Regions from separate parts of the Homo sapiens genome. Here all the other regions are linked to region 1. Evidence: promoter capture Hi-C in 16 types of primary human blood cells and fetal thymus (Javierre and others, 2016). All regions are on one chromosome and are shown on one strand. Each heading gives the region's core, a stretch centred on a gene start or on the middle of the fragment in contact. The rest is flanking DNA. Distances are from core to core; before and after follow the strand shown. Region 1 holds the start of TMEM222 (transmembrane protein 222). Region 2 overlaps TRNP1 (TMF1 regulated nuclear protein 1). Region 3 overlaps FGR (FGR proto-oncogene, Src family tyrosine kinase). Region 4 holds the start of KDF1 (keratinocyte differentiation factor 1). Region 5 holds the start of IFI6 (interferon alpha inducible protein 6). Region 6 holds the start of ZDHHC18 (zDHHC palmitoyltransferase 18). Region 7 has its middle 7.5 kb from the start of LINC02574.

Region 1 (3,839 bases), core at 574-3,073:
CTCACAGCCTGTGGTCCAGAAGAGATTAGATAACTACAGTGATTGAATCAAGAAGTCATGTAATTTATTCTCAACAACTGTAAACTACACACCTAATCTATTCCAAACCCTGTGCTGGATGCTGGTTGTTGCCCTTCAAGGATCACACACTGCACAGGGGTCAAGGAGAGGTACAAACGTGCTCAAAGAATTTGGAGTGGGTTAGAATCATTTTCTAACCCACTGTAATCATTATCATGCCTGCGAATCTCTGAGGTCTTTATAAAACATCCATTTATTCAATCACCTAATAAATCAGTAAACATCTAGTGGGCATATGCTTTGCACCAGGAACTGTGCCAGCTACTGAAGTCAAGGACCTTAGAGTTCTATAGCAGAGACAGACATCCCCCACAAAAAAACATGAAAATATTAGGTGCTACAAACAGGACAGCAAGCTCTCCATAGATCAGCATTGAGGGAGGGTAATTCAGTGGAAGAAGGACCTTCCCCAAATGGGAAGCTCCTAACTTCCTGAGTGCATTTGTCCATACCTTCCTTTACCTGATTACTCTTTTTATTCTTTTTTTTTTTTCTTTAAGGCTGATTTTTAGTGGCAGCCTTCCTTCTGACTTTGGGCTGTCCCCAACTTCCCCTCCCCACCCCAGTAGACCCCAGTAGACTTCATTTTCTTTGTCTTGACATCCTTTAAAAAGCCAAAAGTCTCCAACATTTGAGCCTGGCTTCTCTCTAATTATGGTTGTGTGTGATCTCAAACAATTAACTTCCCTGAGCCCGTTTTCCCATTTGTACAATGAAGGGATTGGATCACATCTAAGGCTTATGATTTACTCCAGTAAGTATTCACACTCTTGCACACACTGCTCTGCACGGCCTTCCTTTCTTTGTACCGCTGCACTCATACTTCCACTCCTGTGCCACATGGCAAACATCAAGACTCAACTCAATAATATCCTATCTTCCAGCAAGTCTTCCCTGTATATACAATAAAACACACACACACACACACGTGCGCACACACAACTGTGTGTGTCTTCCTTTATGCTACCACTACCTCGTGAGAGGGCCACAGAATGAAAAGGGCAAGGGAGGTATAAGACTTGGGTTTGGGCCAGGCGCGGTGGCTCACGCCTGTAATCCCAGCACTTTGGGAGGCCAAGGCGGGCGGATCACAGGGTCAGGAGTTTGAGACCATCCTGGCTAACATGGTGAAACGCCACCTCTACTAAAAATACAAAAATTAGCCGGGCGTGGTGGCACGCGCCTGTTATCCCAGCTACTCGGGAGGCCGAGGCAGGATCGCCTGAACCTGGGAGGTGGAGGTTGCAGTGAGCCGAGATTGTGCCATTGCCCTCCAGCCTGGGCAACAAGAGAAAAAATTCCGCCTCAGAAAAAAAAAAAAAAAAAAAGACTTGGGTTTGCATCGTGGTCTCTCACCTTTTGAACCTCAGTTTCTCACCTGTAACAGGAGGGAATACCTAATTTGGATGTCTAATTAGTTTATGGGGATTAGAAACAATTCATGTCAAGTGCTTGGCACCTAAGAAGTGCTCAATAAATAGCGACTGTACCACACCTCCTAGGAGCCCTCAGCGTACTGAATTAGAGTTCTCTATAAGTCTCCGGCGCTAGACTGCGAACTGCCTGAGAGCATCCCTTCTGCAGCCGCGGGGCATAAGCGGCAAAGACTCGGGGCTGGCAGGCGCATAGGGAGTGGGGCGGGGCTGGCCGGGCCCAGAGGAACGCGGCTCGGATTCCCGGGGGAAGGCCAAGCGGGGCGGACCCCATCTCCGGGAAGTGACGCCATGGGGACGAGCGGCACCAGAGCCGGGGCCAGTCGGAGCGGGGCGCGCGCCGCATGGCGGAAGCGGAAGGGAGTTCTCTGCTCTTGTTGCCGCCGCCGCCACCCCCGCCCAGGATGGCGGAAGTGGAGGCGCCGACGGCGGCCGAGACGGACATGAAGCAATATCAAGGCTCCGGCGGCGTCGCCATGGATGTGGAACGGAGTCGCTTCCCCTACTGCGTGGTGTGGACGCCCATCCCGGTGCTCACGTGAGTCTCTTCCGGCATCCGCCTGGGGACGAGGAGGGCCCAGGGAGAGCCGGAGTCGGGCCGGGCTAGCCTCCGGCCCCAACGCGCAGCAAGCCTTTTCCTCGGGTCTGGCCCGCACGCCTCGCCCAGTCACCAGAACCCCGCCATCCATGTAGTGCCAGTTTGTGCACACGGCTGGGACACGCTCCCTGCTCTCAATACACCTGGTGTAGCCAGGGAGAGAGTTGTAGGCCAGCAGGAAAGGGCAAGTGGCTGGGAGACTCGAGCTGTGAGTGTGTAGAAGAGGGAGCCCCTTATCGGATCTGAGGAGACATTTTTATTAATTCACTGGTTTATTCTCTCATTGAGCAAATGCTTACTGGTCGCTTACCATATTCCAGACATACTGCTGGGTCTGGGAGCAAGAGTGGGAGTTTGGTTGGGACCACACGAGATCCTGGGATGTCAACATTGGAAGGGCCCCCAGAGATCTGAGAGTCCAACCCTTTGTCTCACGTGCCATCTCAGTTGCAAACTGGGTTTAGATCCCAGGTTGTCTGCCTCCCAGACCAAAGTTCTTTCTGTAACATCAGCCTTTGTCAGGGGAGAAGCAGGTGCTCTGGTACTACTTGGCGCCTTTTGGGAGGAGCTCTCATATGGGGAGAGGTGGTTTGCCCTCCTGCTTCAACCTTGACAGCTGATAAACGTAACCCCTCCTCACCGTGCTGGATAGTTTGCCAAGCTCTTAAACACCCATTTTATCAGAATTAAACATCCATTTTCTAAGGTAGGTTATCTTCTCAGATGGTGAAGCTGAGCTGCTTGTAGCATTAAGTGTCTTGATCAGGTTCGCACCCCAATAAGCAAAGGCATGAAGAGCTCAGTCTTCTGATCTAACTTGCTCTTTGCACTACATCTTATCCACTCTCACCTGATGGGATAGCTTGTTCCGCTATCAATAACAGCCAGTGGTGATGTGGAGAAGGGATCATTTGGGGCCTTAGGTGTTGCTGATTCTAAAAAGATCGTAGTTTTTGAATTATGTTAAAATACTTGAATTATTTTGTGTTTTCAAGTACTTATGCATATAAGAGCATCCAAATCTGTTCTTTAAAAATAAAATATTGGGACAGGCGCGGTGGCTCATGCCTGTAATCCCAGCACTCTGGGAGGCAGTGGAGGGTGGATCGGTAGGTAGTTCGAGACCAACCTGGCCATCGTGGCGAAACCCGTCTCTACTAAAAATACAAAAATTAGCTGGGCATAGTGGCACGTGCCTGTAATCCCAGCTACTCTGGAAGCTGAGGCAGGAGAATCGCCTCAACCCGGGAAGTGGAGTTTGCAGTGAGCCGAGATTGCACCACTGCACTTCAGCATGGGCAACACAGTGAAACTCCGTCTCAAAATAAATAGTGAAATAAAATCTTAGGAAAATGTGCACATTAATTCATTCAGTGTTCTTCTAACACATGTGCTAAGTGACCCCTGTGTTCCCAGATAGTTCTAGGTGATGCGAATATACAGTGATGAATAAAGGAGATATGGTCTTTAGACTTTTGAGAGTTTAAGTCATAGTGGAAGGAGATAGACAGTAAACAAGTAAGCTAATAAAAGAGCACCTGATAGTGATGAGTGCTGTGAAGAAAATAAAATATTAGTGTGAAAATAACAGGGGCCGGGCGTGGTGGCTCAGGCCTGTAATCCCAGCACTTTGGGAGGCCCAGGCGGGCGAATCACCTGAGGTCAGGAGTTCAAGACAAGCCTGACCAACATGGAGAAACCCCATCTCTACTAAAAATACAAAATTA
Region 2 (4,138 bases), core at 80-2,579, 330 kb before region 1:
CGCAGGCCGAGCTCTACCTGGCGGCTCACGGGTCGCGCCTCAAGAAGGGCCCGCGCCGCGGCCGCCGCGGCCGACCCCCCGCGCTGCTGGCCTCGGCGCTGGGCCTGGGCGGCTGCGTGCCCTGGGGTGCCGGGCGACTGCGGCGCGGCCACGGCCCCGAGCCCGACTCGCCCTTCCGCCGCAGCCCGCCCCGCGGCCCCGCCTCCCCGCAGCGCTGACCTCCACGCCCGGACCCCTGGCCACCCCGACAAGCTTCGCCGAGGTGCCGACCGACCGACTGATCGCGGACGCCGGCTGGAAGGACTACGGATCCGCAGGAAGAGGCAGTTGGGGGCCAGGGGCCCAGTAGAGGAGGCTGAGGTGCGGTCTTAGCGGCTGGTGCGTTCGAGGGTCGGTCATGGCGTGTGGGGGGCTGGTCCAGGGCCCGGGAACTCCCTTCCCTGGAGCTTCTGGCGTCTGCTGGGTCCCTAGTAAAGCTGCCACTTTCTGTTGCCGCCTCTCCCGACCATCTGGAGAGTGAGAGGTGGTAGCATCAAGTCTCCATTATAAGAGTTGGACTCTTGAGGGGGCTCAGATCCCAGGAACGGGTTGGCGGCAAACTTTTACCACTTGGAACCTGCCGCACGGATGCAGCACCCCCCATCCTCACCCCCACTTGCGTGGCCTTTCCCGGGCCCCTCGGAGCTGTGAGCAGTCTTGCCCTTGAGGATGCTGCTTCCTGGCGCCGCCCAGCTCCGTGCCTTCGGGAGGACAGAATAATGAGGCCCCAGGATGGGGTGGAGGCTGGCACAGGGCTGTACCACTGAATTCCCCCTCTAGGCCTGTTTCACCTTTGGGGAGACGGAATCCCAGAGAGGTTTAGGATTTGTTCTCTTCATACTTAGGCCCTTCTTCTTCTAGGAGACAGCTTTTCTTATGCCGTCATGCAGGTTCGCAAAAATTACAGCCTGACTCACATAACCAGGACAGGATGTCTGGCACCTGCTCACCCAGGGATCCTTACATAGCAGAACCTAGAGGCTTAACTCCCAACCTGTTACTAAGATGGCTCGGCCAGGTTGGAACCAGGTGATACCCTTTAACAGGCCCCAAGGGGGCAGGTGTGGTATCAGCTTCCAGAAAGGGGGGCCTTAAAGAGCCAGATCTGAGGTGAGATCTGCTTCTCTTCCTGTCCAGATGCCCTTCAGTCTCCCATTCCTCTGTCCCCACTGTGAATGACCTGGCTACCACATTGCTGCTCACCAGCTGAGTTAATTTCACTCTCACTTATCAGTCTGCGAAGTGGATCTCTTAACCTCCCAGAGGGGCTGTGGTGACGTTAACCCAGGGCAGAGGTCCTTCTTCTTCCTCACTAAATCATGGAAAGATAATTTTTTTGTTGTTGTTGTTTGTTTTGAGACAGTGTTTCGCTCTTGTTGCCCAGGCTGAAGTGCAATGGTGCGATCTTGGCTCACTGCAACCTCCACCTCCCGGATTCAAGCGATTCTCCTGCCTCAGCCTCCCAAGTAGCTGGGATTACAGGCATGTGCCACTATGCCCATCTCATTTTGTATTTTTGGTAGAGACCGGGTTTCTCCATGTTGGTCAGGCTGTTCTTGAACTCCCGACCTCCGGTGATCTGTCCGCTTCGGCCTCCCAAAGTGTTGGGATTACAGGTGTGAGCCACTGCACCTGGCTGATAATGTATTATTTTAACTCACACCTGGAAACAGGCACTGCTTTTGCTGATAGAGCCATGAGCTAATTTAAAGTCCTACTTTTGCAGGGTGGAGAGGGGATTTCTCAAGGTCACATGCCAGTGAGGGAAGAATCAAGGTCCCTGGCCTGTGTGTGCACCTCCCACAGTACCCTGGGCAGGGGCTAGGGAGAGTTGTCCTCTGGATCCTGTCTGCTCTGTGACTTAGAACAACTCTGCCCCCTCTCTGGGCCTCTTTCCTCAGTCCCTCCTTGAGTCAGGGCTTGGGAATGGGGTGAAGTGGGGAGGATGCTTCCTTCCACAGGAATCTGGGAGGGTCAGGTGCACTGCTCTGATAGGCTGAGGCTTGGGGCCCTTATGGGATCCTCCCTCATCAGCCCTTCTCCCTGGATACCAAACTTTTTGGCTGGTTTCTCGGCTAACAGCAAGGCTTTCCTGAACCCTTTCTTAGCTGGGGAAGGGAGGTTCAGGAGGGAGTCTCAGAGCCTCTGACAAAGTTAGGGAACCCCAGGGAAGTAATGAAGGGGGCAATGCCATCCTCTGGTCTTTCCAAACAGGGAACACCTTCCAAAGCCACTTGGGTCATTTGGGGTCTAGAGGCTTAGAGAGGACAGGACATCTTGGAAAGAGCTGAGCTCAGGCCTTGGTGCTGGGCTGCAGCCAGGACCATTTGTTTTCTGGGTTGCATGGGAGGGGGCACTTGGTCCGGAGAAGCTTTTAGCTAATGGTGTAAAGTGCTCGGTGCCATCACAGTTTTGGCTTTCTCCAGGATTTATTTGTAATCAGCTTGTCCCGATTTGGGGGTGGGGTGGGTGAGTAGAGAATTAGAGACGACACTGGCTAGTGTGTGTGTGTGTGTGAAGTAGAGGGTAGTAAATGGAGATTGGTCCTGGTGTCACAGGCAGCTCTGCCCCCTCCCTCCACTTCCAGATGTCCCACTGCTCCTCATCAAGCTTCCTGGCCAGGGCACACACATGTAGACTTGAACCCCAGCTCCTAGTTAGTGCTATGTCCATTACCACATAGCCAACTAACAAAAGGCACCTCCCACACCTGCCTGACCCTCCAGGGCCCCCTCTAGAAGCTCACCCGTCTGGCTTTATTCAGGCTGGGTGCGGTGGCTCATGCCTGTAATCCCAGCACTTTGGGAGGCCCACGAGGGCCAATCACTTGATGTCAGGAGTTCAAGACCAGGCTGGCCAACATAGTGAAACCCCTTCTCTACTAAAAATAACAAAAATTAGCTGGGCGTGGTGGCAGGTGCCTGTAATCCCAGCTACTCGGGAGGCTGAGAAAGAATTGCTTGAACTCGGGAGGTGGAGGTTGCACCGCACTCCAGCCTGGGCAACAGAGCAAGACTGTGTCTCAAGAAAAAAAAAAAAAAAAAAAAAAGCTCACCCGTCTGCCTCCATTTTCTTCTTAATTAGCAAATATTGATAGGGGCTCAGAAAGCAGAGCCAAATCAGAGGAGGGTCTCTACTTTTAAGGGCTTATGTCTCCTGGCTCTTTTCCAGGCAGGCTTTTCTGGCTGTCACCATCCCAGGGGATCCCTTGGGGGCTGAGCAGTTTGTTGGAGGCCAGCTCTAGCCTCGGACAGAAGGCTGACCCACCCCTTTTCCCCACATGACTTTCAGAACACTTTCTTGGTGGCCCCCAGCTCTGGGGACAGGACTGAGTACAGGGATCTTGGGGGACCTGTGCATTGAGGACACTGACGGCCACCAATGAATTTATATCTCAGCAAAGGGAAATGAGGGGGGAACAGGAGCCTTTCTTCAGGCTGGTGCTTGGGGCTGGGAGACCAGTTCAAGGTTCTAATCTGGGACCTGCCCCTCAACTGGATAACCATGTGAGCGTTGCCACCAGAGGGCAGTGTGGGGCTGCTTTCTCGAGACGAAGGGGTGTGGCCTGGAGGAGGTTCAGTCCTTTATTGTTCCTGCCCCCAATCATCCCTTTGCCCGGTAGTCCCCGGGGCTTCCTAGACCTTGAGCTGCAGGGGCCTGGGAGAACGAGCAGGGTAGTCGCGGTCAGCGCAGCCCTAGAGTGGGAGTGTAGTTCTGGGGATAGCTTCCTGGGTGGAGTGGGACTAGAGGCCAGAGCTGTGCCCATCACCGGCTCCCTAGGGGCGGGAACCCTCTTTGAAAGGGGAGCAAGGCCGGGTGCGGTGGCTCACACCTGTACTCCCAACACTTTGGGAGTTTGAGGCGGGCGGATCACGAGGTCAGGAGATCGAGACCATCGTGACTAACATGGTGAAACCCCGCCTCTACTGAAAAAAAAAGGGGGGAGCAAAGGAAGCTCCTTTGGTTGGGCTGAGCCTGGAACCCCAGGGAGAAGACCCATTAGGAAAGACTTCCAGAAAAGACAGGTAGCCCTTGTTGGGGTCACTATCAGGATAAAAGACCAGAGTTATTTTGTATTCACAGATTTGTTACACTAATT
Region 3 (4,042 bases), core at 111-2,610, 300 kb after region 1:
ACAGTTCAGGAAACAGGGGAAGGCATTGGCAAGTGGTGTGTCCAGGAGGGCAGGCAGGAGGGGGACGGAGGAAGTGTTGAGGGACTGTATAGACAGGACACATTGTCAAGTTTTTTCAAAGCCCTCCCCGCTCCCACACGCATGACATTAGCTACCTCCTTAATAATCACTATAATAATAACACACATATTTCGTGTTAGGGTCTGCCTTAATACACGTATGTATTCACTTAATTCTCCTAACAATGTTGTGAGATAGCTACTATTGTTAAACCCCATTAGACAGTCAGGGCAGCAGTTGCTAGAACAGGAACCCAGGCTGTCTGCTTTAGGGCCTGTGCTCCTAACCACACTACCCGTAACCACAACACTGCACTGAGCACCTCTCAGTGCTTGGTGACACTGGCTCCAAGATGTGGACACAAGCATGAAGCTCCCCACAAACCTCCTGTCCTCTGCATAATTGTCCGTCCTCTTCTTCACGCCTCCTACCACCTCCCCAGACTTGGGCCTCACCGCACTTGACCTCTGAACCTCGCCTACCCGCTCCTGCTCAGTGATACCCACTTCCTGCCAGCAGCCTCCACCTGCATGCAGCCTCTCTATTCCAACAACCTCCAAACATGCCCACATTTCTCCCTTCCCCAAAGGAAACTATTCTAAGTTCCATCTTGCCGTCAACATTCTGCTGTATCTTCTCGCCTTCCCTTCACTTGAAAAAGTGCTTCACACTTGGGTCTCCACTTCCTCACCTCCCACTCCCTCCCAGGCTCTGCTGTCTGGCCTCCGCCTCCCACCCTCACACAGAGAAATCTCTCACCAAGGTCACCCCCACTGCCAAATCCAGCGGTAGCCTCTGACACGCCCTCTCTTGTTTCCTGAAGCTTCTCCGCTCTCTCGGTTGTTCTGACTTGGCCTGGTCTGGATTTCCTCTCTTCTCCAATGGCTCCTTCTCCTTCGAGGGCAGCTTTCCCCAAAGTGGGGTCCTAGGGCCAACCTTTTGCACTCTCCACTCTCTTCCTTAACCGTCTATATAGCTTTTTTAAAAATTTTTAATTAATTAATTTTTTTTGAGACGGAGTCTTGCTCTGTCACCCAGGCTGGAGTGCAGTGGCTCGATCTCAGCTCACTGCAACCTCCACCTCCCAGGTTCAAGTGATTCTCTTGCCTCAGCCTTCTGAGTAGCTGGAACTACAGGTGCCTGCCACTACACCCGGCTAATTTTTGTATTTTTAGTAGAGATAAGGTTTCACCACATTGGCCAGGCTGGTCTTGAACTCCTGACCTCATGTGATCCGCCCGCCTCGGCCTCCCAAAGTGCTGGGATTACATGCATGTGTCACCGCCCCCAGCCCCCTCCTATATAGCCTTAATGATCATCTTTACTCTCATGAGTCCCAAATTTCTGCCCTAGCCCGTTGTGCCCTCTGCAAGGGCCACAGCAAACAAACTGAGGAGTTTTAGTGGCAATTAAGAAAAGGTGTCCCTTCCTCTGGGCTGATTCAGGGGCATGGATTAGCATGGGCTGGTTGCCTGCCATACAAAGCACAACCTAATCGAATTGCTGGCAGCTTCGTCCACCTGGATGTTCCTCTCCACAAACCACAATCCAACAAGTACCCCCTAGAACTCATGAACTTATACCTGCTCCTGTGTTTCCCGCCTTAGCAAATGGTGCCATCATCCACCCAGCTCCTTAAGGAGACTTTGAGCCACCCTTGATTCCTCCCACTCCCCATAACCCAAATCAGTCACAGAGTCCTGGATTCTCACTCTGCAAAGTCTCTTCAATCCCTTCTTTTCTCATATATGTATGACATTTGTGAGGATAGATTTTTAAAAGCTTTTTGAGCCTCAGTTTCCTCATCTGTAAAATGGGAACAATAATAATATCAAGGGGCCGGACACGGTGGCTCATGCCTGTAATCTCAGCACTTTGGGAGTCTGAGGCAGGAAGATCACTTGAGGTCAGGAGTTTGAGACCAGCCTGGCCAACATCGTGAAACCCCGTCTCTACTAAAATTATAAAAATTAGCCAGGTGTGGTGGCGTGCACCTGTAGTCCCAGGTACTTGGAAGGCTGAGGCAGGAGAATTGCTTGAACTCAGGAGGTGGAGGTTGCAGTGAGCCAAGATTACGCCACTGCCCTCCAACCTGGGCAACAGAGCAAGACTCTGTCTAAAATAATAATATCAAGGCCAGGCATGGTGACTCATGCCTGAAATCCCAGCACTTTGGGAAGCCAAGGTGAGAGGACTGCTTGAGCTCAGAAGTTTGAGACCAGCCTGAGCAACATAGCAAGATTCTGCTTCTATAAAAAAATATACAAAAATTAGCCAGGCATGGTGGCACACACCGGTAGTATCAGCTACTCAGGAGGCTGAGGTGGGAGGATCACTTGAGCTCAGGAGTTTGAGGCTGTAGTAAGCTAAAATCATGTCACTGTACCCCAGCCTGGGCATCAGAGCACGCCCCTGTCTCTTAAAAAACTAATAATATAACGGTGTTATTGTGAGAATTAAGTGAACCAAGGAGATAAATACTTGCTGTAGTATACTTGCTCAAGTATATAAAGGTATTCAATGAATGATAAATTCCTGCCTCTTGGGCCAGGTCTCGGTGGCTCATGGCTGTAATCCCTGAACTTTGGGAGGCCAAGATGGGCGGATGGCTTGAGCTCAGGAGTTCAAGACCAGCCTGGGCAATATGGCGAAACACCATCTCTACTTAAAAAAAAAAATATTAGCCAGGCATGGTGAAAGAATCATCTGAGCCAGGGAGGTCAAAGCTGCGGTGAGCCGAGATTGTGCCACTACACTACACTCTAGCCTAGGCAACAGAGTAGGACCCTGTCTCAAAAAAAAAAAAAAAAAAAAAAAAAAAAGAAAGAAAGAAAGAAAAGAAAAGAAAAACAAAAAGAAAAAGAAAAAGAAAAATTCTTGCCTCCTTAATAGAATTAATTCCTAGTAATGCTCCCTTGCACTTTTTCAGCACTTTACAATTTTTTAAAGCTCATACACTGTTGTTTTTACTGGGAGGCAATATGTGTAATGCTTAGCAAATGCAGCCCAACTATCTGGGTTCATACATCAGCTCCACCACTCACTAGCCATGTGAACTTGCACAGGATATTTACTTTCTCTGTGCCTCAACTTCCTCATTTGTGAAATAGGATAGTAGTAATTTCTAACCCCGTTAATACACAGACAGTACTTTGAATAGTGCCCAGAACATAGTACATGCTCTATTATCTACTATTATTATTATCAGTACAATCTTCTTTTGTTCTCACAATGACCTTACAAAATTATTAGATAAGGAGACAGGCTCGGACTGGAGCAATGACTTGTCCAAGAGGTGGCCTTGGAGTCTGGACTCCAGGGTCCTGTCCATAGGGCTGGTCTTGCCCCAATCCCTACTTACTCTTCAGCTTGGATTGAGTCAACAGGGGCCACGTAGTTGCTGGGAATGCAGCCAGTTTTTCCGGAGCTGAGAGACCGAGCCTCCCACCAGTCACCTTCACTGTAGGCACAGAACAGGGCATGGTCAGCAGCACCTCCAGCCCCCAAGGCACCCTGAGGCCAGGTGGAGCCACACAGGTCTGCAGAGATGAATCCTGCCAAACCCTCATCTTGGACACCCCCCACCACTGGGGCTTTTGTCCGCTCTGCCCCAGCCACTGCAGCTTCCCTGGGAGGGCTTGTCCCTGCAGAAGGAATAAGCTCGGGGGCACTTAGGGCTCTTAGCTTCTTCCTTGGGCTCCCCAGCTGGGTTGGGCTGGGGATTGGGAATTCAGAGGACAGCTGACTAGGTCACTTCCCCACAGAAAATGGCTACTGATTTCCTTCTGGATAAAATCTAGACTTCTCAATGTGGCTTAAAAAGCCTGACAGAGACCAGGTGTGGTGGCTCATGCCTGTAATTCCAGCAGTTTGGGAGGCCCAGGCAGGCAGATCTCCTGAGGTCAGGAGTTCGAGACCATCCTGGCCAACATGGTGAAACCCTATCTTTACTGAAAATACAAAAAATTAGCCAGGCTTGGTG
Region 4 (4,031 bases), core at 362-2,861, 360 kb before region 1:
TACGTGGGGCTCCTGAGGATGGACTGGCTATTGTCTTCTCCCCAACCTCCAAAGCTTTAGGACTCTCTATTATTGATTAAATTAATACAACGAGGTGCCCAGCGTTGTGCTAAATGCTGAGAAAACAGCAGTGAATGGGCCAGAGGACTTTCACCTTATTTGACTCTCACAATTGCTCTGAAAATAAGTAGTATATCTCCATTTCACAGATCAGGAATCTGAAGCTCAGAAAGGTGAAGTGACTGGCCCAGAGACACCTAGCAAGAGAGGGCTGGAGTAAGATTTGCACTGTGGCCCGCCAGGCTCTGAAGCCTGCGTACTTTGTGTGTGCCACACATCTCCAGCGGTGGTGGGATGAGAAGAGAAGACCTGGGATAAGGACAATGCCTGCCTCAGTTCCCCACTTCCCTCCAGCCATTGAACCCTCCTGAAGTCAAACTCAGGCAGTTTCTTCCAGGCTGTATCTCCCCGACCCTGCTGCCACCGCCCCGCCACCACCCCGCCCAATCCTAGGAACCTGGTCACTTGGTTTAGTGAGGGGAGACTCCCTGTCCCTATTGTGGCTTGAGGCAAGATTCTTAACCTCACTTTCCTCATCTTTAAATAAGGAGAGACTAGTATCTTCATGCCCCGCCAATCCCGTGAGATTTAAATGAAATATTGAGTGCAGGGGGCTTCCCGCAGTGGCCTTGCCCATGGGAGGGGCTAGGTCACTAGGCGATCTAAGGCACCGCAAGGATGTTCCCGGGGGTCAGAGGGTCCCGGCCCGCCCTCCCTGGATTTCTCGTTGATGCTTTCCTCTTCCCCCTTAGTCCCGCGAACACACACACACACTCAAGGGTCTATGTACCGTCCCCTCCTCCGAGGGTCCCCAGGACAGGCCCGGCCGCACCAGCCTCTGCCCCCAGCCCAGTGCCAAGCCTCGGACACCCGGCCGGGGAGGACCACCCCAGTCCTGCTCGAGAAACAGCCGTCGGCTCAGTGCACCCTCGGCCTCCTGCCCCAAAGGTGCAGCCCGAGAGTCCCATATCCGCGGGCAGCTAGTCCTGGGGACAAGGAAGAACCAGATCCTGGCACTGTCCCCCGGGCTACCACAGCCCCTACACCAACTCTGCCCTCGGGGCGAGCACTACCCTCTCCAGCTGCAAGGGCCCTACCCCGCGGGCGGACCCAGCCTCCCTCCCGTCCCGACGCTGTTCCTCGGGGTGAGCACCAGCGTTTGTCCCATCCCGACGCTGCCCCCCGGTGAGTGCGGCCCCCGCACCCAGCCAGTGCAGCCCTAAGGGCGAACGCGGCCCCTCACCCCATTCTGCGCGCCCAGCCCGGGCGCCCGCTCAGGCCGCTCCCCAGCCCGGCCCGCGCACCCCGGAAGTAGGAGGGTGGCCCCCGAGGAACCGGGCCCGGGACCCTCTCCTGTCCGGGCTCAGCTTCGGGGGGCTCCCGACACCGGCGCCGCCCTGGCTTGCGCCCCCCTGGGCCCGCGCCGGGCTTACCTGTCCCGCCAGGTGAGCCGCCTCCGGCTCAGCCCCTCCCCCGCCCCCTCGCCGCTCACCTGGGGCGCAGGTGAGCGTCTCGCGGGAGCGCTGCACGGGCCGCCGCTAGGGACACACTTCCTGCCTCCGCGAAGCGCTACCGCGCACCTGGACCGAGGCCCCGCCCCGGGGCTCTGCAGAGCTGCGCGTCCCCGCTCGAGTGCTCGGCCCGTTCAGCCTAGTCCGGGTAGGTGAGGTGTGGCGGGGAGGGGTCGAGAGGCGCTGGGGCTCAGTCTCCTCTTCTGTTCAACAGGCTGGTGGTCCTGTCAGTCTCTGAGCACCTGTGGAACTTCTGCCCGGCCGTAAAGCTCCAACTCAAAGGGAAGCTCTCTTCTGGGAAGCTTTCCCTGATCCTGTCTGTTTTTCTGTTGGTTAGAACAGTCCCTGTACTCAGCACACTGTCGTTTTGTTGTCTTCTGTCTCCTCCTTTAGCCTCCTACCTTGCAGGGTTTGGTCTTGTTCCCCTGTGTTCCTGGTGCTCAGCACAGGTCCTGGCACATACTAGGTGTTCAACAAATATTTTCCACTGAATGAGGCCCTGGGCCCCAATTTCTCCCTTTGCCCTGAGGCAGAACTGGGAGCCTGGGCCGCTGATCAGTTTACCTTTTCTTTTGTTCAGAGAAATCTGCAGGTAAAGACAGGAACCTCAGCTCTGAGGCCCCGAGTAGGGTAGAGGAGGGGGACCGGATATGCAGCTCTGAAAGATACATCCAGGATCAGAAGTGGTGGCCAAAATGGGCCATGGTCACTACATCCAAAAAAGGTCTCTGCAAGAGGCAACACCATTGAATGTCAATAAGGCAAGGCTCAGACTATTCTGGGTTACTGTTCCCCTTAATATTAATAACAACTCAATAACTTAACAATAGCATTAATAAACAAGTGACTTGGCCGGGCGCAGTGGCTCATGCCTGTAATCCCAGCACTTTGGGAGGCCGAGGCGGGAGGATCGCGAGGTGGGAGTTTGAGACCAGCCTGGCCAACATAGTGAAACCCAGTCTCTACTAAAAATACAAAAAATTAGCCTAGCATGGTAGCAAGTGCCTGTAATCCCAGCTACTCGGGAGGCTGAGGCAGGAGAATGGCTTGAACCCAGCAGGCAGAGGTTGCAGTGAGCCGAGATCGCGCCATTGCACTCCAGCCTGGGCGACAGAGCGAGACTCTGTCTCAAATAAACAAAACAAACAAACAAACAAGTGACTTTTAGGGAGCATCTCCAGGAGCCATGCATGCCGAAGCCGTTAATCTGTGAAGTGGGTCAGGTATTATCATATCCATTTTACAGTAAGAGGAAACTGAAGCTTAGAGAGGGGACATTGTTTGCTCAGGCAGTTGGCACAAACTGACTTTTGGCAAGGCACTTTCCTTCTCTAAACCTAATCTCTGGAGATAGTAGTACCTCTCTTTAACTGGGAGGATTAAAAGAGATCATGGATGCAACAGGAAGATATCACTGGGATGCATTAGGCATAGGTGTTCAATTTCCACCAGAGACCCTCCATCCCAGCGCCTCCCACCACATCTTGTCCACATTCCCTCCTGAGGAAAGTGCACATTGTATTCTTATTTGGAGCTCAGAGAATGAGTCACATCCTCACTTCACAGTCACATCTTGTGCAGTTGAACATCTGTGTACTCTAAAACCTAGCAAGTCCATTCCTATGGTACAGCCACAGTAAGCTCTTGTGCAATGCACCAGGAGAGAATGTATACAAGAATGTTACTAGAAACATTGTTTGTGGTAGCCCCAAACCGAAAACACGGAAATGCTACTGACAGGAGATAGAGAAATGTGGGATATTCATGCAAAGGAATTAATTATAGAGCAGTAGAAAATGAATGAAAAATAGCAACATGGTTGGATCATGGTAATATAATATTGGATTGAAAAAAGGCAAATCTCAGAAGACTACATATGGAATGACATCCTTTATATATGATTCAAAAATAACTAGAACTACTGCATCTAAGCATAATATTTGGTTGAACCATATGAATTTGCTGTTATTTGACCTGTTTTGATCTAAAAGTAATGGCAGATTCATGTGCTTCAGCCTAATTTTTACGTGAAAAAAAACTAAGAAAAGAGCAAGGCGTTGGGTGCAATAGCCTGGGCCTGTAATCCCAGCTACTTGGGAGGCTGAGGCAAGAGAATCTCTTGAGCCAAGGAGTTCAAGACCAGCCTGGGCAACATAGCAAGACCCTATCTCAAAAAAGAAAAGAAAGAAAAGAGCAAGGGAATGAGAAACACAAAGTTCAGAATAATGAATACCTGGGGGGCTAGGCATGGTGGCTCATGCCTATAATCCCAGCACTTTGGGAAGCCAAGGATTTGGGAGGTTTGGTTGAGCCCAGGACTTCAAGACCAGCCTGGGCAACATAGAAGGACCTGTCTCTATGGAAGGAAAAAAAAAAAAAAAAAAAGGCTGGTCATGCATCTGTGGTCCCAGCTACTTGGGAGGCTGTGGCAGGAGGATTGCTTGAGCCCAGGAGGTCAAG
Region 5 (4,267 bases), core at 718-3,217, 350 kb after region 1:
CACAGAACTCAGGGAAACACTTTACTTACATATACTGGTTTCTTTCTTTAAAAAAAAAAAATTGATCTTGTTGTTGTTTTGAGACAGGGTCTCACTCTATTGCTCAGGCTGGAGTGCAGTGGCCCCATCTCAGCTCACTGAGACCTTCGCCTCCCAGGCTCAAGTGATCCTCCCACCTCAGCCTCCAGCATAGCTGGGACTACAGGTATGCACCACCACGCCCAACTAATTTTTTTTTTTTTTTTTGAGATGGGGTTTCACCATGTTGCCCAGGCTGATCTTGAACTCCTGAACTCACGCAATCTGCCTGCCTCAGCCTCCCAAAGTGCTGAGATTACAGGCATCAGCCACCATACCCAGCTACATTTACTGGTTCCTTATGGATATTACAAATGCTCCGGATGAAGAGATGCATAGGGCAAGGTATGGGAGAAAGGGCATGGAGTTTCCATTCCTCTCCAGAAGCACCACCCACTGGAGACCTCCTTGTATTCGGCTATCTGGAAGCTTGTCAAACCCTGTCCTTTTGTGTTTTTATGGAGGCTTCATTACATAGGCATGACTGATTAAATCACTGCCCATTGGTAATCAGCTTAACCTTCAGCCCCTCTCCCCTCCCCAGAGGAAATGCCAGCCATCAGTCAACTTATTAGACAGTTATCACTCAAAAGATATTTATCACTTTGAAGATTCCAAGGATTTTAGGAGTTGTATGCCAGGAACTGGGGGATGAAAAAATATATTTTACAATATCACAAGGGATAAAGGTCACACAGCAAATTGTGCAACATGGGTACACATTCAAGACAGTCAGAATTCATGAACCTATGCTCTTTCCTTTATACCACAAAACTGGAAAATGCATATGCCCTCAGACTCACCTCTAATATGATCTTTGTCAGATCAATGCTATTTTCTTAAGTTAAAAAGAAAAACAAGAAACTCCTCTCATGTATTGAGTACTTAGCACTTTATGGCACGCAGTCCACTTGTACCTATAACAACACCACGAAGTAGGTACCATTGTTATCAACCACATGTTATAGATAAGGAAACTGAAGCTCAGAGAGGTTAAGTAATATTCCCAAGGCTGCCTAGCCAGGTCATGGCAAAGTCAGGGTTTAAACCCACAATTGGCTAATACCCAAGCCCACATTTTTTTTTTTTTTTTTTTGAGATGGAGTCTTTCTCTGTCGCCCAGGCTGGAGTGCAGTGGCGCAATCTCATCTCACTGCAAGCTCCACCTCCCAGGTTCATGCCATTCTCCTGCCTGCCTCAGCCTCCCGAGTAGCTGAGACTACAGGCGCCCACCACCAAGCCCGGCTAATTTTTTTTGTATTTTTAGTAGAGACAGGGTTTCACTGTGTTAGCCAGGATGGTCTCGATCTCCTGACCTCGTGATCCGTGGGTCTCGGCCTCCCAAAGTGCTGGGATTACAGGCGTGAACCACCACGCCCGGCCACCAAGCCCACATTTTTAACAACCACTCCAGATGGCTTCATCTATCCTTAAAGATGAACTCACTGTCACATTGGATCCTATAATAAAGGGGATTCTAAAATCATCCAGTCCTTTGAGCAGCAAAGGCAACTTAACTTTCCTTTTACAGAGGAAGTAATTAAGGCTCCAAGAGGTGACAGTGTTAAGGCCACAGATCGCTGATATTGCACCTGTAAGCTGGGTCTCATGCCACTTGGGGTTTTGCATCCCATCTCCCTAAAAATCTCCAACCCATCCTCTTAGACAAGTCCCAGCCCAGAGCACTAAAAGGGACCCAGGAGTGCTGCCTCCCAGGAGAAGGGGCCTCCTGGCTCTCAGAACATGAGATTTACAGGCAGACAGGCAGCCTGGCAGAGGGTGGCAGCTTGATGCCCACACTTCATAGCTCCTGAGTTTACCTTGGAGGAGAGAAGAGAAGCAATCTTCAGCCCGGAGCCTGCTGATAGATGGGCACAGCAGCGAGTAAACGGTTCTCCGGCTGAAGGCTGGCTTTTTATCATCACTTGTGGATCCTCCCACGTCTCACCCTAGGCAGCCAATCCCTGTCGGAGTTTCTATTTCTGCACTCTGCAGTTTCATTTTCCCCTCTCTCCCAGCTCCTGCACTCTGCAGAGTTTCATTTTCCCCTCTCTCCCAGCTCCGCCCAGCGGGAACATTTGTGTGCTGCCTGCTGGCAGAAAAATGCACTTCAAGCTGAGGACTTTTGGAGCCGCTAAGGGTATTCAAAGCATGTCACACTATGATGAGAGCCACGGCCATACTGGGCTTAGTGAAGCCTGATCACCAGCTCCCCCTGGGGCACACAGGCCTTTCACCATTCAGTCCAATTAGTAAACAACACCTATCATTTATTGAGCACTTGCTGCATGCCAGGGTCTGTGCAAAGTGCTCTATTTACATGATCTTTTTCCAATCCCACAGTAGTCATGTGACATACCATATGCTGTTTATAAACCCCCAGAACTTTGGAAATTAAGTCACTTTGTTCCATTGTTCTCTCAGGCTGGCTGCTTCTGGGTCATGGGCATATGGTAAGACCAGTGAAGCCTGTGTTCATGTGGCCATCATGATAGATCTTGAGTTTCAAGATGGGTCCCCTGGCCCTAGGTAATGAACTGAGCATTCTTTAAAGCCTTTGGATGGTGATGCTTGAAGTGCTATGGGTCAGAAATGCAACCTCTATTTGGAGAACATAGAAATTCCAGTAAGGATGAATCATTGCCTTCTCCCAAGTGGAAGGGGTCTGAAATAATTGACCTGCCACCAGATGGCTGGCTATTCTCATTGAGAAATTTTGCCATATTGCTACCTGCTGCTGGCAGATTGGCTATATTTTGGCAATTGCCAGATCAGTTTTGGTGAGAGGGAGCCCAAGTTGTTGGACTCATTTCTAACCCCCATCCTTACCACCTTGGACACTCATAGGTCTATTGCAAGGCAATAGTGAGGCTAAGTTTAGAGGCTGGCTGACATCCACAGGATGGGACATCCTGGCCATTGGGCTGTAGAGCCTCCTCTGCAGCAGATGATCTCTGGTCAGCATTAACATGAGACATAGAGATCCAGGTGCTTTATGCCCATTCAGAGTTCATTCTTATGCCCCTAACCCACACCTGCTTATTCCCAATCTTCCAATCTTGTTCCATCCATGCCTTTGACCAACCAGCCAAGCCATTTGCCTCTTATTAGGAATTGGTGTATGTCTGTACTTCAGTCCATCTCTCTCTCTCTCTCTCTGCATACAGAGGGAACAACACGGTATACTGCTCCTAGTTCTGCCCCCTGGGAGGATTCACTATTATTCAGTGCCACCCCCAAATGGGGCTGTAATAGAGTGGTCCGTTTCCAGCTGATACCAAAATATTATACTGACTTATCTGTGAATTGAGTTTGACTCCTTTCCTCCATTATCTGTTGGTTGCTGGGAACACTCCATGAGGCCATATATATGGGTCAAAGAGAAAACCCAGAGAAACAGAGTTGGGCGCCACAGGACTCTGAGCTCCCTGTTTATTTAATTTACTCAAGCCTTTTAGACCCCTTTGCTCAGCCTTGAATATACCATTTCCATCATATATTTTTTGTTTTGTTTTGTTCTTTGTTTTTTGTTGTTTTTGTTTTTGTTTTTGAGACAGTCTTGCACTGTTCCCCAGGCTGGAGTGCAGTGGTGTGATCTTGGTTTACTGCAACCTCTGCCTCCTGGGTTCAAGCGATTCTCCTGCCTCAGCCTCCCAAGTAGCTGGGATTACAGGTGCGCGCCACCATGCCCGGCTAATGTTTTTTGTATTTTTAGTAGAGATGGGGTTTTGCCATGTTGGCCAGGCTGGTCTTGAACTCCTGACCTCAGGTGATCCACCCACCTCTACCTCCCAAAGTGCTGAGATTACAGGTGTGAGCTGCTGTGCCTGGCCTCTTTGTTGTTTTGTCGGTTGGTTGGTTGGTTTGTTAGAGACAGGGTCTCACTCTGTTGCCGGGGCTGGAGTGCAGTGGTACAATCATAGCTTACCGCAGCCTTGACTTCCTAGGCTCAAGAAATCCTCCCAACTCACCCTCCCAAGTATCTGGGACTATAGGCATGTGCCACCACACCCAGCTAATTTTTATATTTCTTTTAGAGATGGAGGTCTCACTACATTGCCCATGCTAGTCTCCAACTCCTGGCTCCAAGTGATCCTTCTGCCTCGAGGTCTTAAAGTGCTGGGATTACAGGCATGAGCCAATGCGCCCAGCTTCCATCACATATGGAACTGCTGCTCTACCTTTCTGA
Region 6 (3,931 bases), core at 677-3,176, 500 kb before region 1:
GATAGAGAGGAGGTAAACTGAAAATCCAGTAGGATTGCTTTGGTTTCTGTAAAGTGACGAGAAAAAAGAAAAGGTTTCAGGTTGCAAGAGGACCCAGTTAAGGTGGGACAACAGGAATCTGTACTGGAACCAGTATGTCTAGTTTTGTGACTTTGTTCCACAGCCAAGGAGCAAAAAGGGAGGAAGCTCACCATGTGGTTTGCTCAAGATGGGGCTCATCATATTGAGAGCCTTTGGCACCAAAGGCACGGCTGAGCAGCCTTTGGCATATATATCAATTATTGATCCTTAAGGTCACTGTTGTCGGCTTCCTACTCCTCCCCATTGTATATTTTTACTTCCTTTTTTACTTTCTCCTAGTCTCCAGTTCTTTTTTTCCTTGCACTTTTCCTTAGGTTTTACAGTAACCACAGTGTGACAGACATACCCTAAGCTGACCCCCAATGATTCCTGCCTCCTGGTATTTACGCCTTGTGTGATTCCCTTTTCTTGAGTGCAGATGGCTCCTGTGCTTTGCTTTTAACCATAGGAGATGGCAATGATGATGGGATGCCACTCTGTCACATATATAGTAAGTTATATAAAACTCTATCATCATAGTCTGGAGCTAGAGACCCTCATTGTCAGTTTCAAGAAACTAAGTGGCTATGTAGGAGAAACCTGCATGGCAAGGAAATGTGATAATCTCTAGGAACTGCAGGTGGCTTTTGGATCCTGAGAGAGGCCTCCAGCAGACACCCAGCAAAAATCCCAGGCCCTCCTCAGTTATACAGTCACCCAGCAAAAATCCCAGGCCCTCTTCAGTTAAACAGTCGCAAGGAAGTTAATTCTGCCAATAACCCAAATGGGCTTGCAAGTGGATTCTTCCCTGGCTGAGTCTCCAGATGAGAATGCAGCCTGATTGCAGCCTTGTGAGACTAAGCAGAGGACCCAGCTAAGCTGTTCTCTGGCTCCTGACCTGGAACCTGTTAGATAACGTTTGTTTTTTGTTTTTTTTGAGACGGAGTCTTGCTCTGTCACCAGGCCGGGTGCAATGGCACAATCTCGGCTCACTGCAACCTCCACCTCCTGGGTTCAAGCAATTCTCCTGCCTCAGCCTCCCGAGTAGCTGGGACTATAGATGCCGTGCCACCATGCCCAGCTAATTTTTTATTTTTAGTAGAGACGGGGTTTCACCATATTGGCCAGGATGGTCTCTCTCGACCTTGTGATCCACCCACCTCGGCCTCCCAAAGTGCTGGGATTACAGGCGTGAGACACCGCGCCCGGCCGATAATGTTTGTTTTAAGCCTTAAATTTGTGGTAACTTGTTACACAGCAGTAGAAAATGAATACTCCCAGAATTCCTGAAAAAACACTGGGGCCCTCAGGCATGACCCCTCTACATTATGTGCTACCTAGGAAAATCTGGGCCTGGGCCCAGGACACAGAACTTGGTGAACGAGGCCAGAGGGTGTGCCACACACCTCCAGTGGGCACTCTGGACTTCAAGGTAGAAGAGGTCCTGGCTTTCAAAGCAAATCGTGTGCCCCACCTCCCCGCGCCTGCCTGCCTCTGCAAATGCCTGTCAGTTCGACCCTCAGAGATGGGCGAAGCCTGGGGAATTACAGACTGCCAGAAGTAGATCACGAAGTCCACCACCTGAATCTCGGCGTTTGGCACCGTGCCTGGTACACAGTGGACGCCCAACAAACGGCTTGCTTGCAGAACAGAAAGAGCCCTCGAGTGCGCGTCTGCTGGCCCCCTCTTTGTGCAGAAGGGAAAAGGGAGACTGGGAGGGCCGGGGACCTGCGGGGCCCCGCCGCGGGTCAGAGCTGGGCCTCCGGCCAAGCGCCATCCCGGGCCCAGGCGGAGGGGGCGCTGCGGCGGGAGGCCGCGGCGGGCGGTGGCGGCGGGCCGGGGGCGGAGCGATGGCGGGGCCGCCCCAGTGAGTGAGCGAGCGAGCGCCGCGCGCGCCGCCGCTGCCACCTCCGCTGCTCGGCCCGGTCCCGGAGTGGCCCGGCCGGCCCGCGGGGCGCGGAGCCGAGGCCCGCGGCTGGCTGCATGAAGGACTGCGAGTACCAGCAGATCAGCCCCGGGGCCGCCCCGCTGCCCGCCTCCCCGGGGGCGCGCCGTCCCGGCCCCGCCGCGTCCCCGACTCCGGGCCCCGGGCCCGCGCCGCCCGCCGCCCCCGCCCCGCCGCGCTGGAGCAGCAGCGGCAGCGGCAGCGGCAGCGGGAGCGGGAGCCTCGGCCGCCGCCCACGGCGCAAGTGGGAGGTGTTCCCGGGTCGCAATCGCTTCTACTGCGGCGGCCGCCTCATGCTGGCCGGCCACGGCGGCGTCTTCGCGCTCACGCTGCTGCTCATCCTCACCACCACCGGCCTCTTCTTCGTCTTTGAGTGAGTTCCGCTGCCTCGGCGCCCCCTCCCAGCCCCCTGCCGCGCACCCCACCTTCCCAATCCCTGCTGGGCACTCCGTGCCTTCCCCTTCGCCTCCCTGGTCCTCATCCTCCCCGCCCCTTTGGGATCCTCCTCGGGCCTCTTGTCTGCCCCCCTGGCCCCTGCGCACCCCCATCCCCGCCAGATGCCCCATCCTCCTTGGTCCATTTGGGTACCCCATCCGCGCTGGTGCCCTCCACCCTCCCAGCCCCTCCATTCTCCCTGACCCCACCCTGGCACCTGTCTGCCTGCCACTGCCAGGAACACCAGCCTCCATGCCCCTCCACGGCCCCCATCCTCGCTGCCCTCTCAGAACCTGCCCCAGGGCTTCTTGAACAGGCCCCTCCTGCTCACCCATCCCTGGACCATCTCTTGCCAACCCCCCAAGTTCTTTCTGACCCTTGTATCCCTTCCTGACCACTTCTAGATCTTGTGTGTCCTTTGGCTGTGCACACCCACCATAAACATCCTAGTCATCCTCGCTGCCCTCTCCGGGTCCCTCCAGGGTCCCCTCCTTTTCTCTAGTCTCAGACACCAACCCCGCTTTTGCTTCCCCTCAGCCACGCACACCCTAGGCCCCAAGGCATCTTTTCTCAAAATCTTTGGGCCTCTCGGGCCCCCTTTCCTTCTCCAGAACCTTCCTTAGGTTCTCCAGAGCTTCCTGTCCTTCCCTCAGATCCCGCCCGCCTCCACCCAGCCGGCTCCCAGGCCCCTGGCCCCCCTGCTGACCACCTGGCTTTCTTTCCCTGCTCAACATTCTGGAACGTCCCTCTGGCCTGTTCCACATCAGCAACAGCTGCGGTGCCTTGTTGTTTTTCAGGAAAGACTTCGGAGTGCTTTCGTGTGACAGGTCATATTTGCCCCCCTAGGTTTTTGTCCTCTTCATATCCCCCGGTGACCCAGGATTGGCCCACACATAATCTCCATTTTATGGATGGAGGGTCATATATTTGTATTAGAAGTTTTCCACCCACCTCTGAGCCACCTGCACTGTGATTCCTTGCACACACACTCACACGCCCACCCACCCACCCTTGCTTCATAAGCCCTGCTGTCCCCTCCCAACTCCCCATCCTTTGTGGTTGTTCCTCTTAATTATACAGTGTAGTTAAGAACTCTAACAGACCTGGTTCAAATCCCAGCTCCACCACCCACTAATTGCGTGACCTCAGGGCAGTCACTTCACCCCCTCAGTGCCCCAGTTTCCTCATCAGTAAAATGGGATTTATAATAGTACCCACCCCGTAAGGTTGTCCTGAGGGTGGCATGAGGTCACACATGCAAGCTTTTAGCCCAGTAACAAGCACACTATGTTGGCTGCTATTAGTACTTGTGTTGTCTTTATCAAAAAACACTTCCCAAGGGCATGTGGCCATGGTAAGGCTATCATAGAGACACCCGCCCCCAGGTACCCTTTCTAGCTGCCAGATCATGTATCTGCAACTTTGGGTTTCCCCTTGAAGCAAGGTGAAGACTTCCTATAAATTAGCTTCTCCCTTTACCCTTTAACCACA
Region 7 (3,927 bases), core at 306-2,805, 330 kb after region 1:
CCCGACCTCAGGTGATCTGCCCACCTTGGCCTCCCAAATTGCTGGGATTACAGGCGTGAGCCACCGCGCCCGGCCTAGGCCTCTATTTCTATAAGATTAATCAATTTCCTGGAATTCTTTCTAAATAAGCGAGATGTTCCCTTGTCTGTGATTAGAGTTGTAAATATTTCCCCCAGATTGTCATTTGTCTTATGCGTTGATTTATAGTGTTTTTCCATGCAGAAGTTTTTGATTTTTATATAGTTGACTTTATCAATCTTTTCTTTTTACAGCTTTTTGATTTTTGAGTCATGGTTAAACTTTCTCCACTATGAGATTATACATTCTCCCATGTTTTCCTCTAGTGCCTTTACGGTTTTATTTTGATTTTTCAAACATTTAAATATTTTATCCCTTGGGAGCTCATCCTGGTGCTCAGTGTGAGGCACGGATCTAATTTTTTTTTTCCTAGTTGGCTACCTAGGTGTCCCAACACCATTTATTAAAGAGTCCATTTTCCACTTTGAGAGGACACCTTTATCAAATACTAAATTCTCGCGTGCAATTAGGTCTATTTCTGGACTTTCTATTCTAGTCCATTGGTCTGTTTGTCTCTTCCTGAACCAAACCAAGTGGTTTTAATTATTATTTTTTGTTTTGTTTTGTTTTGAGACCGAGTCTCGCTCTGTCGCCCAGGCTGGAGTGCAGTGGTTTGATCTCGGCTCACTGCAACCTCTGCCTCCTGGGTTCAAGCAATCCTCCTGCCTCAGCCTCCCAAGTGGCTAGGATTATAGGCACCCACCATCACGTCTGGCTAATTTTTATATTTTTAGTAGAGAAGGGGTTTCACCATGTTGGCCAGGCTTGTCTCGAACTCCTGACCTCAAGTGATCCACTCGCCTCGGCCTCCCAAAGTGCAGGGATTACAGGCATGAGCCAGCATGCCCAGACTTAATTATTTATTTATTCTTATTTTATTTTTTTGAGATGGAATCTCTTTTCATCGTCTAGGACGCTGGAGTGCAGTGGCATGATCTCGGCTCACTGCAACCTCTGCCTCCTGGGTTCAAGTGATTCTCCTGCCTCAACCTCCTGAGTAGCTGGGACTATAGGCGCCTGCCACCAGGCCAGGCTAATTTGGCTAATTTTTGTATTTTTTTTTTTTTTAAGATGGAGTCTCACTCTGTTGCCCAGGCTGGAGTGCAGTGGCATGATCTTGGGTCACTGCAACCTCCAACTCCCGGGTTCAAGCAGTTCTCTGCCTCCGTCTACCAAGTAGCTGGGACTATAGGCATGCACCACCACACCCAGGTAATTTTTGTATTTTTAGTAGAGACAGGGTTTCACCACATTGGCCAGGCTGGTCTCGAACTCCTGACCTCAGGTGATCCGCCTGCCTCGGCCTCCCAAAGTGCTGGGATTACAGGCGTGAGCCACCATGCCCGGCTCTTAATTTTTGTATTTTTAGTAGAGATGGGGTTTCACCATGTTGGCCAGTCTGGTCTTGAACTCCTGACCGCAAGTGATCCACTCGCCTTGGCCTCCGAAAGTGCTGGGATTACAGGCGTGAGCCACCCCATCAAGCCCCAAGTTGTTTTAATTTTTGAGGCTTTAAATATTGTTATCTAACAGTAGTCAGTGAGTGTTGCCTTTTTTTTTTTCCAGAATTTTTCTGGCATTCTTTTTCTTTCTCTCTCTTCTGTCCTTTTTTTGTTTGTTTTTGGGGGTGGGGAACCTCAGGAGACCTCATGGGATTTATGCCTTTGCAGGAAAAAGAAAATCAATAATTACATGTTATTTGGTAGTGGCTAAGAAAAAAAATAAAGCAGGTAAAAGAGCAGAAGGCAACTAAGGGGTAATATTTAGATAGGCAGCCAGGGAAGTCCCCTGGATGAGGGGGAGATACCTGAGTGAAGGATGGGAGACCACGTGGCTACCTGGGGGAAGACATGCCTGGCAGGGCCAAGGGCAAATGCAGAGGCCTGAGGCAGGAGCACGCCTGGCATGCTGAAAAACAGCAAGGCGGCCAGTGCAGCTGGAAGGGAGTGATCAGAGCAGAGAGTGGGAGGCAGTGAGGTAGATCACGCAGGGCCTTGTAGGTCACAGCAAGGACATTGGCTTTTCCTCTGACACCAGGAGCCATGGGGGGGGCGAGGGGGTTGAGCAGAAGAGTGACATGTTCTGACCTCCGTTTTAACAGGATCACTCAGGCTACTGCGTGGAGTGCAGACTGCAGGGGTGAGGGTAGCGGCAGGGAGGGCAATAGGATTTGGGATGGGTGAATAAATTGTAACTTGGTTTCCTTGTCCATTTTCCCCCATCAAACTGTGAGCTTTGCAAGGACAGGCCCTGAGCTTATTCAGCTCTATGAGCCAAGTGCCAGGCCCAGAGTAGGCGCGGATAAACACTGTGTGAGGAAGAAGGGTGGGAAGACAGAGGAGGAGACAGGAGGCAGGAGAGGCAGAGCCCCCTGGGAAATGGCTCTGCAAAGGCCACAGAAAGAAGAGGAAGCAGACATGATGACAGAGCCTGTTCCCCAGCAGGAACCAAGGCCAGGAAGGGCTGAAGCTGGGGAGCTGGGCCCCCAACCCCGGATCTGTGGCCCCCATTAACAATCAGGTTATGTGCAGTTTATGCTGGAGTTCTGCCAACAAAAGGACCCTGGCCGGGGGGGGTGGGGTGGGGATCTGTTCCTCAAGGTGAAGGTGCAAAGGTGAGGTGGCCTGGCAGAGAGGAGAGCAGCTTTCCTGAATCCTTGCACACAGAGGCCCTGAGAAAGGATAATTCACCCCCTTTATAGATGGTAAGTTGAGGCTCCATGAAAGAAACAGACCTAAGTGATACAGCAAATAGGTGGCCTGGCCTAGTTTCAGGGGCTTGGCCTCTCCAAAACACCTCCTTGGCCACTACCTAATTTGGTCGGGGTCCCCTGCAGTTTTAGGGAGTGACTAAATACAGAAGGAAGGGATGACTCCTGTTATTCAGCCAGCTCTTAGCTGCTGCCAAAGCACAGCTGGTGAGTCCTCACTGTGGGCGGGACCCAGCTTGGGGAACAAAAGCCACAGGACACTTCAGGACCTCATGAGGCTTAGGAAAGAATTGGCCTGGAAGTAGGGCAGATAGACAAGAGGCACCAAGCTGAGGGGCAGAGGAAAGAGGTCAGGCTTTGAAGTTAGGCCTGGCTTTGCCACTATCTTGCTGTGTTATCTTAGGTAACTAGCACCTCAGTTTGCGCATCTGTAAAATGGGAACGACAAGTCCTGCTTTATAGGGCTGGCATGGGGGTTGAAAGGGGCAACAGAAGTCCAGTGCTACCTGAAAGTGCTTCCTTCTTAGCTTCCCCGCTCCCAGACTGGGGACCTGCTATCCCTGTCTTCAGCAGATGCTGGTTGGCTGCTCCTGAGCAAAGGGGAAATGGGCTGCGATGGCGGCTCAAGTCCCAGGCCTACAAATGGGTACAGGCTGTGGGGGATCTGGCCAGTGCTGACACCTAGGGGCTCTTTCAGGATTAGGTGAGCTTGCACATGCCCTCAGGACAGTTGAGTAGGTCTTGGCTCTGCACCAACTACCTCAGGCAAGGTAATCACTCTCTCTGGGCCTCAGCTCCAGGGAATCTCTTCGGCAATGGTTGGGGGTGGGCAGGAATTAGAGGTCTTCTAATTGCAAACGGAGTGGGCTGCTTCAAGAGTAGTGAGCTCCCTGCCTCTGGAGGTATGTAAGCAGGGACTGGACAAGCACTGGGTAGAGATTCACTCACTCATTAATTCAATAAACTCCTACTGAGATTCCATTTTGGGCCAGGGCCTGTGGCCATCATTGTCATTAGGAGATATAGTGACAAGGCATCTTTACTCTCCTGTAACTTACATCTTTTTTTTTTTTTTTTTTTTTTTTTGAGACGGAGTTTCCCTCTTGTTGCCCAGGCTGAAGTGCAATGGCGCGATCTCG

Evidence for each region. Contacts are between HindIII fragments. The CHiCAGO score rates a contact against its expected background, and 5 or more counts as called.
Region 2: a contact is called between a fragment that was not itself captured here and the fragment with the promoter of TMEM222 in region 1, in 1 of 17 cell types (erythroblasts). The highest score is 5.1, in erythroblasts.
Region 3: a contact is called between a fragment that was not itself captured here and the fragment with the promoter of TMEM222 in region 1, in 6 of 17 cell types (endothelial precursors, megakaryocytes, naive B cells and 3 more). The highest score is 10.6, in endothelial precursors.
Region 4: a contact is called between the fragment with the promoter of KDF1 here and the fragment with the promoter of TMEM222 in region 1, in 7 of 17 cell types (M1 macrophages, M2 macrophages, neutrophils and 4 more). The highest score is 9.5, in M1 macrophages.
Region 5: a contact is called between the fragment with the promoter of IFI6 here and the fragment with the promoter of TMEM222 in region 1, in 13 of 17 cell types (naive CD8 T cells, monocytes, total B cells and 10 more). The highest score is 9.9, in naive CD8 T cells.
Region 6: the fragment with the promoter of ZDHHC18 here is called in contact with the fragment with the promoter of TMEM222 in region 1 in 10 of 17 cell types (total B cells, neutrophils, activated CD4 T cells and 7 more); the score reaches 11.6 in total B cells.
Region 7: a contact is called between a fragment that was not itself captured here and the fragment with the promoter of TMEM222 in region 1, in 5 of 17 cell types (endothelial precursors, naive CD8 T cells, erythroblasts and 2 more). The highest score is 6.0, in endothelial precursors.

What each region holds. Positions count from the first base shown.
Region 1 is chr1:27,320,340-27,324,178 of GRCh38, forward strand. TMEM222 (transmembrane protein 222) reads left to right here and starts at 1,824. Exons shown (of 6, transcript NM_032125.3): 1 at 1,824-2,052. The coding sequence starts at 1,859. It also overlaps the pseudogene ACTG1P20. RefSeq lists enhancers at 1,238-1,784, 1,785-2,332, 1,832-2,181, 2,333-2,879. The HindIII fragment of the contact is 7,674 bases long and covers 1-3,839 here.
Region 2 is chr1:26,994,253-26,998,390 of GRCh38, forward strand. It overlaps TRNP1 (TMF1 regulated nuclear protein 1), which reads left to right. Exons shown (of 2, transcript NM_001013642.3): 1 at 1-360. The coding sequence ends at 218. Among named protein-coding and RNA genes, the nearest start is that of TRNP1, 2.6 kb to the left of the region's middle. RefSeq lists enhancers at 3,310-3,915, 3,426-3,720, 3,673-3,732, 3,743-3,862. The HindIII fragment of the contact is 2,158 bases long and covers 251-2,408 here.
Region 3 is chr1:27,618,138-27,622,179 of GRCh38, forward strand. FGR (FGR proto-oncogene, Src family tyrosine kinase) reads right to left here. Exons shown (of 13, transcript NM_005248.3): 5 at 3,422-3,520. Among named protein-coding and RNA genes, the nearest start is that of FGR, 15 kb to the right of the region's middle. RefSeq lists a silencer at 262-421. The HindIII fragment of the contact is 959 bases long and covers 882-1,840 here.
Region 4 is chr1:26,958,857-26,962,887 of GRCh38, forward strand. KDF1 (keratinocyte differentiation factor 1) reads right to left here and starts at 1,612. Exons shown (of 4, transcript NM_152365.3): 1 at 1,494-1,612. RefSeq lists an enhancer at 1,050-1,732 and a silencer at 2,602-2,896. The HindIII fragment of the contact is 1,819 bases long and covers 53-1,871 here.
Region 5 is chr1:27,670,225-27,674,491 of GRCh38, forward strand. IFI6 (interferon alpha inducible protein 6) reads right to left here and starts at 1,968. Exons shown (of 5, transcript NM_002038.4): 1 at 1,899-1,968. RefSeq lists an enhancer at 2,000-2,339. The HindIII fragment of the contact is 12,379 bases long and covers 506-4,267 here.
Region 6 is chr1:26,824,762-26,828,692 of GRCh38, forward strand. It overlaps ZDHHC18 (zDHHC palmitoyltransferase 18), which reads left to right and starts at 1,927. Exons shown (of 8, transcript NM_032283.3): 1 at 1,927-2,378. The coding sequence starts at 2,044. RefSeq lists silencers at 1,709-1,861, 1,825-1,974, 1,985-2,194. The HindIII fragment of the contact is 7,154 bases long and covers 1-3,700 here.
Region 7 is chr1:27,653,306-27,657,232 of GRCh38, forward strand. No RefSeq gene overlaps it. Among named protein-coding and RNA genes, the nearest start is that of LINC02574, 7.5 kb to the right of the region's middle. RefSeq lists a silencer at 1,206-1,608. The HindIII fragment of the contact is 5,418 bases long and covers 1-3,927 here.